Regions from separate parts of the Homo sapiens genome. Here all the other regions are linked to region 4. The links are contacts of gene promoters, found by promoter capture Hi-C in blood cells and fetal thymus (Javierre and others, 2016). All regions are on one chromosome and are shown on one strand. The core of a region is centred on a gene start or on the middle of the fragment in contact, and the rest is flanking DNA. Distances in the headings are between cores, read along the strand shown. Region 1 holds the start of AKAP11 (A-kinase anchoring protein 11). Region 2 holds the start of RFC3 (replication factor C subunit 3). Region 3 has its middle 200 kb from the start of LINC02344. Region 4 holds the start of UFM1 (ubiquitin fold modifier 1).

What was found. The method cuts DNA at HindIII sites, captures the fragments that hold promoters and counts their contacts. A CHiCAGO score of 5 or more calls a contact.
Region 1: the fragment with the promoter of AKAP11 here is called in contact with the fragment with the promoter of UFM1 in region 4 in 6 of 17 cell types (total B cells, non-activated CD4 T cells, monocytes and 3 more); the score reaches 12.5 in total B cells.
Region 2: a fragment that was not itself captured here is called in contact with the fragment with the promoter of UFM1 in region 4 in 4 of 17 cell types (non-activated CD4 T cells, total CD4 T cells, total CD8 T cells and 1 more); the score reaches 8.2 in non-activated CD4 T cells.
Region 3: a contact is called between a fragment that was not itself captured here and the fragment with the promoter of UFM1 in region 4, in 1 of 17 cell types (total CD8 T cells). The highest score is 6.9, in total CD8 T cells.

Annotation. Positions count from the first base shown.
Region 1 is chr13:42,270,848-42,273,722 of GRCh38, reverse strand. It overlaps AKAP11 (A-kinase anchoring protein 11), which reads right to left and starts at 1,571. Exons shown (of 13, transcript NM_016248.4): 1 at 1,495-1,571. RefSeq lists a silencer at 1,312-1,661 and an enhancer at 2,202-2,381. The HindIII fragment of the contact is 2,900 bases long and covers 1-2,385 here.
Region 2 is chr13:33,815,930-33,818,629 of GRCh38, reverse strand. It overlaps RFC3 (replication factor C subunit 3), which reads right to left and starts at 481. Exons shown (of 9, transcript NM_002915.4): 1 at 365-481. The coding sequence starts at 451. The HindIII fragment of the contact is 752 bases long and covers 927-1,678 here.
Region 3 is chr13:33,538,469-33,541,263 of GRCh38, reverse strand. It overlaps a transcript of STARD13 not described here. Among named protein-coding and RNA genes, the nearest start is that of LINC02344, 200 kb to the right of the region's middle. The HindIII fragment of the contact is 6,829 bases long and covers 1-2,795 here.
Region 4 is chr13:38,348,583-38,351,282 of GRCh38, reverse strand. UFM1 (ubiquitin fold modifier 1) reads right to left here and starts at 1,432. Exons shown (of 6, transcript NM_016617.4): 1 at 1,362-1,432; 2 at 1,228-1,284. The coding sequence starts at 1,363. RefSeq lists silencers at 881-1,095, 1,793-1,902 and an enhancer at 1,473-1,682. The HindIII fragment of the contact is 2,541 bases long and covers 1-1,854 here.

The DNA of each region.
Region 1 (2,875 bases), core at 322-2,821, 3.9 Mb before region 4:
GAGTTCAGGGGGCTAGAGAAGGCTAGAGAATTTCTCACTATGGTTCCATGTCTTAGGCAACTTCCCATATCCTCAACAACTGCAAAATATCACTGGCCTAGGAGTCCACTGCTAGGCCCTTATCAATATTGTCGATACTGCAGTTATGTGGGTACATACATTAGTCTCTAGCTCAGCTTGGGAACCCACTTCTTCCCTGATTTCCTTACATTCTTTGACCTTTCATAAATTACTGTTACAGCTACAATAGTGACATTCACTGTCCACCCCTGGGTCAGTTTTGTCAGGAGGAACAACGACAAGAAAAAATGAATAATCAGGGTACCGTTTGAAAAAGTAAATGTGTTTTTCAAAAAAAAAAAAAATCATTCAATTGCACTATTTTAACTGACACCAATCATGCCAGGCACTGGGCTGCCATCCTAAAATGATGACATTAAAAAAAATATATCTGTGCATTACTGATACCCCATTTTTTCTTAGTACTCCATATTTTGAGTATTTTCAGACATAACAAAATAACAATCGACATGACATTTCTAAAACAGTGGGAAGCAGCTAAGCAAAACGAGCATTTTGCAAGCGATTGAAAAGCTGAAAAGAGAACAGGAATTAACTCCAGTTTGTACTAAAGCTATTAGGTATGTATCTCAGCAGTCTTTCTCACCATGAAACTCCTTAACATCTAAAGCTAAACCACATCCAACTTTATATGGTTTTAGAAGACAGACAAAGCAGAGAAAAAAAATGAAAGCTGGTAATATGGGGAAGAGAAAAAATGTTAGCTTTTACTGTCATTGTCACTTTTTAATACTTCGGTTACATCTACATATTTTTTATAAAGCAGCTTAGATGCCTGGATTAACAGCAGTATACTCAATCCATTCGGGGTACTTTATGGCCAGCCTTAAGCCATTAACAGCCTAGGAGAGTATTTGACAGCAAATCCAAATATCAATACTCTGAGGAGCCCCTTGACGCCTTCCGTTTACAAGATCTGAGCAGCGCCTGCTTCCAAGGCTCCGGGGGTCTGACAGTGAAGGATGCTGTTCGGGAACAAAGTGCAACGTCCTCCCAACCGCTGCAAATGTTCCTGTGCGCACACCACGAACACACACTAAGCACGCGCACCACGCACCCGGGGGGCCGTCTCTGAAGACCACCCCGGGGATGGAAACAGCCTGTCATTAAAAGGGGCGGCAGCTCCACCGCCACACTTGGGACCCCAGGAAGACGCGTCTCGAGACCCAGCACCTCCCTCTACTCTGGGCCCGGTGCGGTGAGTTTCCTCCTTCGGCCGCGCTCCTCCCGCCCTCCTCCCTCCGCCATGCGAAGGCGCAGCTCTCGGGCGGCCCCGAAGCCAGAAGGGGGACCAGCGGCAGGCGGAGGGGCTGGAGCGCCGGAGCCGGGCCGCTCCATCCATGCCGGCCGCACACCCGCCGCCACCCCATCTAAACGCAGCCTCCGCGGCGAGCACGTCGGCGCCCGGCTCACCTGGGGGCCGCAGCCTCCGCAGCTCACAGACATGTCACCGGCCTCAACGACCCGTGAGCGAGCCGGGCAAGCAAGCTGGCCCCCTCCCGCGCTGACCCCCAGCCCTCCCCCTCCCAGCCCCGCGGCCCGCCCCCGCCCTGCCCACCCCTCGGCTTCCGCCGCCGCCGCCGCCGCCGCAGCTCCGGCCCGCAACACCGCCTACTCTCCACGCCTCCCACTCTCTCTCGCGAGAGGGCAGCGCGCCTCTCGCGAGAAAAATTCCGCGGCCGAGCCCGCGCAAAAGTGGGTGGGCGTTTAAAAAGGGAAAGAAGGAACAGGAAAAAAAGCCTTCCCACGTGCTCCAGTGCAGCCCGCGGAGCAGCCCGCGGGGCAGCCCCGCTGGTCACATGACTTAAAGGGGGCCTCTCCATTGGCCGGGACCCACTCAGCCTTGGGAGCTTTAAATTCGAGGGCGACCTACGAACCTGCGGCGGACGTCTTGCGCGCTTCCTGGTCCGTTGCCTTGGAAACGGCTTAACCCTTCCCTCTGGCAAGTCCCCAGGCCTTGGCTTGCTCCGCAGATTTGGTTTCAGGCTCTGCCTCTTTTCCCTCGACCCCTTAGTCTTAACAGCCTGGGGCCAGCTGGGCTCCTTCTTCGCCACAAGGCTAGTTTTGCTTTCTTCCGAAGCCCGGGGCCCTTCCCAAAGTGGCAGCCCCACCAGATCCGAAGGCCCAAGGAAGGCTCATCCTTTCTGATGGCTCCGCCCCTTCTCCCAGCATCTCCGGGGAGGACCACTCACAGCGCACCGGGCAACCAGCCCTATCCCAGCCAAGAAGTAGCTTCCAGGGTTCTCAGGGCCCTAGTGCTCACCCTGATGTCTTTACGTGGTATGGAAATCGGAAAGTAAAGCTTTGGTCACTGGGAAGCCTAGCCAGAGATGAAAAGCTGTTATGGTGATTATTTTCACCTAAAATCGGAAGGGCCAGTCCAGTCAAATTGCCCTGTCTCCTAAAGGGCATCTGTTCCTCAAGAGTGGAAACACCTGGCAATAAGAAAGACATTTTTGAGTGTATCCTCGTTATGAGTTAAGTTTTGCCCTGTTCAGAGGAGAGGGTCACGGAAGAAAGGGTGCATTCGTTTGTTCATTTCTTCATTCAACAAACACTACTCTAGGCTGTTGATTGAACAATGATGAAGACAAGTAGTGTAGATTCTAGGGAACTTATCTGAGGGTGAAAAGAAAAAAAATCTGTTGGTTTTAAGCTGTATGCAAAGAAGTTACAATAAGTGACGTGATGGTGATGGTGACTGAGTGGCTAGTAAAGGGGATGCCCTTTTAAGGAGGAGATATTTTAGCAGCGATTTGAATAACAGACGCAAAAATCAGAGCATAGAGCATTC
Region 2 (2,700 bases), core at 53-2,552, 4.5 Mb after region 4:
TGGTTCACCACTATCGGCTACGCCGGCCTCCTGAGGTTCTTAGAACATGCCGTGCACATCCCTGCCCGGGAATTTTGCACTTGCTGTCCCCTCTTACCTGTTCCACTCTTTGCTCGGATTTCTGTATTTATGACTTTTCAATTTCCTTCAAGTCTCGGCTCAGATGCCACTTCTCAGTGGAGCTTTTCTTGTTTAAAAATACAAGCCAGCCTCCCACACCTCTTCCCCCTTCCCTGTGTTATTTTTCTCCATAGCACTTATCACCTTCCAATGCGGGCGGGAGAAGCACTGCTCCTCAGGGGGGCGCGAAACCCCGAGCCGGGGGGCCTCCCCTCTCCCACGCTCCCGGCCCCCGCAGACTCACCAGGTTCCGCAGCTGGGCCGCCTGCTCCTTGTGATAGTCCAGCCGTCCCAAGGAGCAGGGCCGATACTTGTCCACCCAGAGGCTCATGGCAGCTCGAGTTCCCGGGGGCCTACGCTTGAAAATCCCGCGCGAGCGCGCGTCCTCCCCACAACGCAGAGACAAGTTTTCCCGCGAGCTCCAAATCTCGTGACGTCACTACCGGTCGCGGCCGCGTAAATGATTTTGGACGGAAAGGCTACGGGGGCCGTGTGCAGACAAAATCAGCTGCCGCGTCGATGCCCTCTAGTTCTGAAGTTCACTGCTTTATTTATTTTCTCTTTGTTCGCACCGTCTATTATATTCTAGAAATTATCAAGCGGAATTGAAAATGTGGTTCTGACCCTTTTGGCGTCACATCCAGATACCTCAGAGAAGACCGTTCCTTTCATTTATTCATTCTTTCATTCACTTAATTCATTCAACAAAAATTTACTAAATATCTGCTAGGTGTGGAACTCTGTCCTCGGCACTAGAATATATACATCTCAGGGTTTCACTCACTTGGCAGGTACCCAGTAAAGCTTCATTGGATGAATCGCTTGAAAATGTCTGATCTTCACTATCCTTTGTTACCTCTATTCCTCAATATTCTTATTGGATTAGAAACAAAAGAATCAAGAGCATGGAAAAACTACCCAAATGTGGTCTGTAGGGGAGAAGACACGAGGTTAATATGCATTCTAAGTCTAGAATATTTGAAAGCCCTCCAATTAAAATGTGTAGAAGCATCTGAACCCCTCAGAAAAATATTCTGCATATGAAGTTGATATGCAACTTTTGAAGTTCTCTTCAAATAGTGCCTCTCAAAATGCACTTTACTCATTGTACATAATATTAATTCCTTATTTAATTTATGCTTTTATTTTATGTATTATTAAGAACCCTAAGTCCTGCCATTTGATTGCAAGGTCTTACAGGCAGGAAATGATTTCCAAATATACTTAATAACCTTTCACCAAGGTGCCTCTTACTCATTTATTAATCAATAATTTATCATGTTCTTCTATGAATCGTCATATTACATGAATTACTCCTGCAGGTAAGGTATTATCCACACCACCAAGTATAAGATTTAATCCCTGTTCTCGAGAAACTTTCTATAATAAGCCTGGAAGGCTTCTGCCTCAGGGCCTTTGCAATTACTGTTTCCTCTTCCTGGACTATGTTTCTCCAGTCAGCAGAGTTGGGTCCCTCATTTCCTTCAGGATGTTGGCTCAAGTATTATCTCCTCACTGAGGCTTCCCTGACCACCCTATTTAATATTGCAAAAAAGCTTCATCTTCTTTATGCTTCTCTCCTTTGGAATTGAAATGGAGGAAGTGTTTGAAATGAGAAGGTAAAGGAAATCAGAAGCAGGGATACTGAATTGTGGTCTATGTGTATATCATAATCATAATGAATGATAATGGAAATAAGTACTGAGAGGAATAAAGAGAAGAACCAAGTGCTAGAATGATCAATAATTTGGCAAGAGTGACCACAGGCATGACAGACAACTTCAATAAGGAGCAGTGGTTGATGGTCTCTACCGTGAAGACATGTCTCTACCATTGAAGCACATGAAGACATGTGCTTCAATATTGTTGGGGGTTCTGAGGAAGGAGAAATAGTGTGGTGACCCAGGAAGTCCAGTTAAATTTGAATTTCAGAAGCTTTTTCATATGTCTATGGCAAAATTTATTACAAATGATTTTTTTTCTCATATAAGTATGTCCCTGGCAATATTTGAAATTGTAATAAATATTGCCAGGGACATACTTATATGAGAAAAAAAATCAGCCTTTATCTGAAATTCAAATGTAACCAGGGCCCTGTATTTATCTAGCAATTTTACTCCAGACTCTTGAATATATAGGATATGAGAAATTGCTACAGAGGAAGTAAAGTCCTCGGGGTTGGTAAACTACAGCTGCAATCACTTTAATGTTTAATGACTCTGGCCCTCAGGTATCTTAGCTCTTTTTTTTTTTCTTGAGATGGAGTCCCAGTCTGTCTCCCAGGCTGGAGTGCAGTGATGCGATCTCGGCTCACTGCAACCTCCACCTCCTGGGTTCAAGCGATCCTCCCACCTCAGCCTCCCATGTAGCTAGGGTTACAGTTGTGCACCACCACGCCCAGCTAATTTTTTGTATTTTTAGTAGAGACAGGGTTTTACCATGTTGACCAGGCTGGTCTCGAACTCCTGAGCTCAGGCAAGCCAGCTGCCTCGGCCTCCCAAAGTGCTGGGATTACAGTAGCGAGCCACCACGCCCGGCAATCATATAGTAATTGTAAGTTTAATTTTTTGAGTAACTGCC
Region 3 (2,795 bases), core at 187-2,686, 4.8 Mb after region 4:
AATCAAATGTGTGGAATATGGAATCAGTTTATTTCATCATTGCATACTTCAGCTTTGGCTATATCCCATTTAGTTGCTTACTTTTTTTTTTCGACTTTCCCATCTTTCTCTACATCGTATATAACCAACCTTAAATTGAGGGATTGCTTCATTTTGCTACCATTATACTATAAAGTTACAGTAACATAGCCCTTCACAGTTCAAAGAGTACACATATATTCAGAAATAGTGGCATTGACTCCTTTGCAAATATCCTCAACTCTTATCCCTCACTTTTAGCACTTCCCTGGCAAAACTCAAACCATGGATGAACTCCTGCATGCATTTATCTTTTCTGAGCTTGGGCTCAGCCTGTTAACTGTTGGGTGGACTAGTGTGATCTCACACCTAAATTGGCTCTGCATATTGATCAGCTCTCCTACTCCTTTGCTTTACTGACTTTGCCCTTTCCTTCTGTAATCCAAATATCTCATTCTTTTCCTTCCTCAAATTATCAACTTCCTCAACTAATGACTTTGCCTCACACTTTATTGAAAAAAGAATTGTGAGCATAAGCCAAGAATTTTTGTGTATTCCCACCATCGAATCTATTTGTGTCTGCACTCATCAAACATCCTTGTATAGGAACCCCCTTTATACATGGTATTGCTTTCCATAGTTTCAGTTACCAACTGTCAACCGAGGTCCAAAAATATTTAATGGAAAATTTCAGAAATATAAATTTTAAATTGCTAGAAGTTCTAAGTAGTGTGATGAAATCTCATGCTGCCTCTCTCTGTGCCTCCCAGAACGTGTATCCTCCCTTTGTTCAGCATCCACTATCACAGTTATCAACTATCACCATATCACTGAGCTTGGATTCAAATAACCTATATTTTCCTTAATAATGTCTCCAAGGCCCAATAGTAGTGATACTGGCAATTTGGATATGCCAAAAGAAGCCTTAATGTGCTTCCTTTAAGTGGAAGGTGAAAGTTCTCGACTTAAGGAATCACCTAAGGTCACTAGGAACCAAGTGGTTGGTAAGAATCAGTCTTCTATCTGTGAAATTATGAAGAAAGAAAAAGAAATTCGTGCATAATATATTTAGGGTAGGGTACTCTCTGAGGTTCAGGCATCCACTAGGTTCTTGGAACATTTCCCCTGAAGCTAAGGGGGAACTACTATAGTTTAAAAGGGTGACAGGTCTTTTTATCAAATGCCAACACTTGCTATTTTTAGTTTTTAGTTTTAGCCATTAAGTGGGTATATGTTCAAAACTTTTGCCCATTTTAAAACTAAGTTGTTTGTAATTGAGTTGTAGGAGTTATTTACATACTATGCGTATGACTTTTTTGTCAGAAGTATATGTTGTGAATATTTTTCTCCCAGTCTGTGGCCTGCTTTTTCATTTTCTTAAAAGTGTCTTTTAAAGAGCAGCTTTTGTTTGTAAGTTGTATATTTGTAGGGATTTGTACGTATCCAAATATTCATTAGCATAAAGCTGTTCATAAAATCCTCTCATTTCTGAGATTCACAATATATCTTATTTATGTTTACGATCCACTTAATTTTTAGTATGGCACAATAATGGTTGATAGTCATATTTTTCAAAATAGAAATCCTGTTATTCTGGTAGCATTCGTTAAAAAGATTATCCTTCATTGAATTACCTTGGCACCTTTATTAAAAATCTGCCGATCTTCTGAATTTCTATTCTATTCAATTTCATTGATAAATATGTCTGTTCTTAACCCAGTCCCACACTGTATTGATTACTGTAGCTTTATACGTCTTGAAATCAGATAGTGGAAGTATTTTTTTCCTCAAAATTACTTTGGCCATTCTAAGTCCTTTGCATTTTAATATAAATTTTTAAATTGTCATTTCAATTTCTAAAAACATCTGCTGGGATTTTGAATGGGATTCTGTTAAATTTATTCATCAGCTTGGAGAGAACTGACATCTTAAAAATACTGAGTTTTCCAATCTATGAACATGGCATATATCTCCTTTTATTTTGATCTTTAATTTCTGTTTGTAATTTTCAGCATACAGGTATTGCACATACATTGTTAAGTTTCTTCCAACACATTTCATGGTTTTTATTCTAAGTGTATTTTTTTAGTTTAAGTTTTCAGTTGTTGAATCATTTTATTTTAGTTCTAGAATTTTCTTATGCATAGATTCTACGTCTCTAGTATTAATAAATGCAAGGCCGGGCGCAGTGGCTCACGCCTATAATCCCAGCACTTTGGGAGGCAGAGGTGGGCGGATCACAAGGTCAGGAGATTGAGACCATCCTGGCAAACACGGTGAAACCCCGTCTCTACTAAATATACAAAAAATTAGTCCGGCATGGTGGCAGGCACCTGTAGTCCCAGCTACTCAGGAGGCTGAGGCAGGAGAATGGTGTGAACCCGGGAGGCGGAGCTTGCAGTGAGCCGAGATTATAACACTGCACTCCAGCCTGGGTCACAGAGCCAGACTCCGTCTCAAAAAAAAAAAAAAAATTAAATAGTTTGTGCCCATTAACTCCAGTATTTGGATCATCTGTGGATCTTGTTTCCATTATCTTTTTCTTCTGTTTCCTGGTATGCCCAGAAATTCTTTATGAAATGTTGTCTTTGTTTATGAAAAAAAAAAAAATACTGGGCTCTGAGTGGTGTTTTTTACTTTATGGAAGTATTTGTAGGATTTACTTTTGCTTCTATTAGGAAGCTAGGCTAAGGGCAGAGCACCTTAATCTAATATGGAAGTGAGATTATTTCAAACTGGTTTTTAGACTTTGTTAGGTCTCGTCTATTTCAGGTTCT
Region 4 (2,700 bases), core at 183-2,682:
CTCCAGGGGCAGTCAGCTATGTACAGATAATACAAACAGCTGGTTTCAGAGTTGGTGTTTCACTAACCAAAATATGCTGAGAGGAGAGACAGGGCCACCAGAGTTGAGGGTGTTTGCATGAGAATGATTTAAAGGTGGACCAATGGACTCTTAACTATATAAGGAGTAAGGTAAGGAATAGAAGTGGGGATAGCTACAGATAAAAAATCACTGTGATTAATGGATTAAATGAAACGTTGTAGATGAGAAATTATAGTAAATCATGTAGGAGAGAATGTATTTATCCATAAGAGTGCCTGTAAACGACATCTCAGAGATGGAGCAATTATTGGAATCTTAAGGTTCTAGGCTGCAACCATGAACACCTGAGATAAAGTGTAACAGGGATATTTTGGAGATGAAAAGATCAAGGGAGGAAAAGGCTGAGAGGTTGTACGGATCATGGATTGGTAAATCATTGAAATTTATCAGTCAGCTAGGTAGGCCAAGGTACTAATTAATTATGCAAAAAATTCTATTGTAATCCTGTTCTTTGCTACATTTCATGCTACTTCCAACTGCAATAACCTCAAGAGTGTTTACTTAAAATCTATCACTCAACTGCGAAGGATAAGTAAAGGCCCCACATGGATAAACTATCCCCTATCTGCATTTCCCATTCCTACCAAATACTCTATTAAATCCCAGCATAGGAAGGGTGTGATCTGAGTCTCATTACTTTGTGATGCCCGACTGCTGAGTTACTCATACACAACGAAACTCAGAAGCCGCGGAATAACAAATGTTCAAGTAATTTCAAAGTCTTGACTATCAAGATGGAATGTCTTCCTTAACTTCCTCAACCAGCTGGCCAAAGCGGTGAAACGCTTTTCTAATATCCAGCAGATGGGGACTGTTTAAGAATCCCAACAAATTACCAGAACCTGGTCCACCTGTCCTCCCGCGCCACCTGCCCACCAAATGAATTCCGAGGGGAGGTCACTAATCAGAAACACACCCACACCCTCGTGACGGGGCCAAGCTGCCAAGCTGACACTTAGCGAGCAAGTACGGACCTCTCCTCGCAGGCTCCGGTGGGAAAGGCTCCTGGAAGGGCGCGAGCCAGGAAAGTAGATGAAGTGAAGAGATGAAGACTGCGTGGGGTAGTTGTTGGAAAAGCTCGGATCATCCCCAACCCAGCCCCGTCTTGTCCGGCCCCAAAAGGCCCATCTCGGCCGAGCTACTCACACTTTGTACGGCAGCCGTGGGTCCGACGTCAGCGTGATCTTAAAGGAAACCTTCGACCTGAGGAAAAGAGCGGGAGAGAGTCAGGGTCGGGCAGCTGGACCAGGAATTATGGCAGTCGGTAAGCAAACACTTACATGGTGGTGCCGGAATGAATCCAGAACACACGACAACTCCGCGGGGGTAGCACGACTTCCTCTAGTGTGCTGGGGACCGCCCCGCTCCACTCACGTCCACGTCTCCCTCTGCAATCTGGGGACCTCCGAAGTTGTTGCTATCCAACGCACTGCCTGAAAATTGGCCCTAAGAGCTCATGCTAGATGGCGCTTTTAAATTACAAATATCTTGTGCTTTTGCGTTTATATATCTAAGAAAAAAGTATGGATTATATTTATAAGATATCTTTCTAACTTTGGTAATTTGCTACCATATTTTTAGTCAGGCAGAATAAGCGTGGGCATAGAGCGTAGGACCCTAGGTTCCAGTTGGCAGGTTGGGGCGGAAGTAAGGGTATGGGGTAGTCGGATGAAGAGCGAGATGGACTTGGGGCGAAGCTCGGGGCGAGGCCGGGGGCGGGGCTGGGGCGGACGCGCTCTAAAGTTTCTAAGGCAACCTGAGCGCGGAAAAGCTTAATTGGTGCTCCAGAAGCAGGAATTGTAACACTGCTTTATCATTAGTTTTCTTCCGTCTTTCCAGCAAACCAATCCTGTTATATCCTTTACATTTCTCATAGTTTCTCCTTCACGCTTTACTTTCCGATACTGATTTATAACTATTGAATTTCGGTTAAGTAAGAGAGCTATCAAGTACGAATTATCTATGCCAAGACTCCCGCTGGGGTGGGTGAGAAAAAATGAGGTTTCTACGTTTGGGGAACGTGGCGTCTAGTTGGGAAGACACATCTATGAACAGGAGATTTCAGTAATTTGTTATATGGTCTAATTAAACCAGTGCGCTGAGTTGCTAATCACTGACCACATTTATTCAATTTAACAACCAACTTTGAACCCTTTCTATTTGCCCGGCGCTAAGCTAAACTCTGGGGAATCCAAGATGAGTAAGGCAGGTAGGCGTCAACTCTCTAGGATCTAACATCCTGTGTAGTGATGACGGAAGAAAATTGTCCTCTAAACTTTATTACAGATCTAAACCTCTGTGTTTGGAAAATATGCGTCTGTCTCACAATGACTGAAATGCCCTTTTAAAACATTAGCATGAATAGACAAAGGAGGAAGCAGGTAGGCATTAAAATAATGGGGCAATCTAGTTGATCTTTAGAATATGCATCAGATTCTTAAGGAGAGATACTTAAGAGAGGAACCAGGAAGGAACTGTAGTAGGGATAATGGAGATCAAATTCATCTTTACAATAATTTTGCAGCCAACTGATCTTCTATGGTGACATTTCCCAGTGGAGAGAGTTCTGGTTCTGAGTAGGCAAGTAAGACTCCAACATTCTCATGACAGCCATCCTCA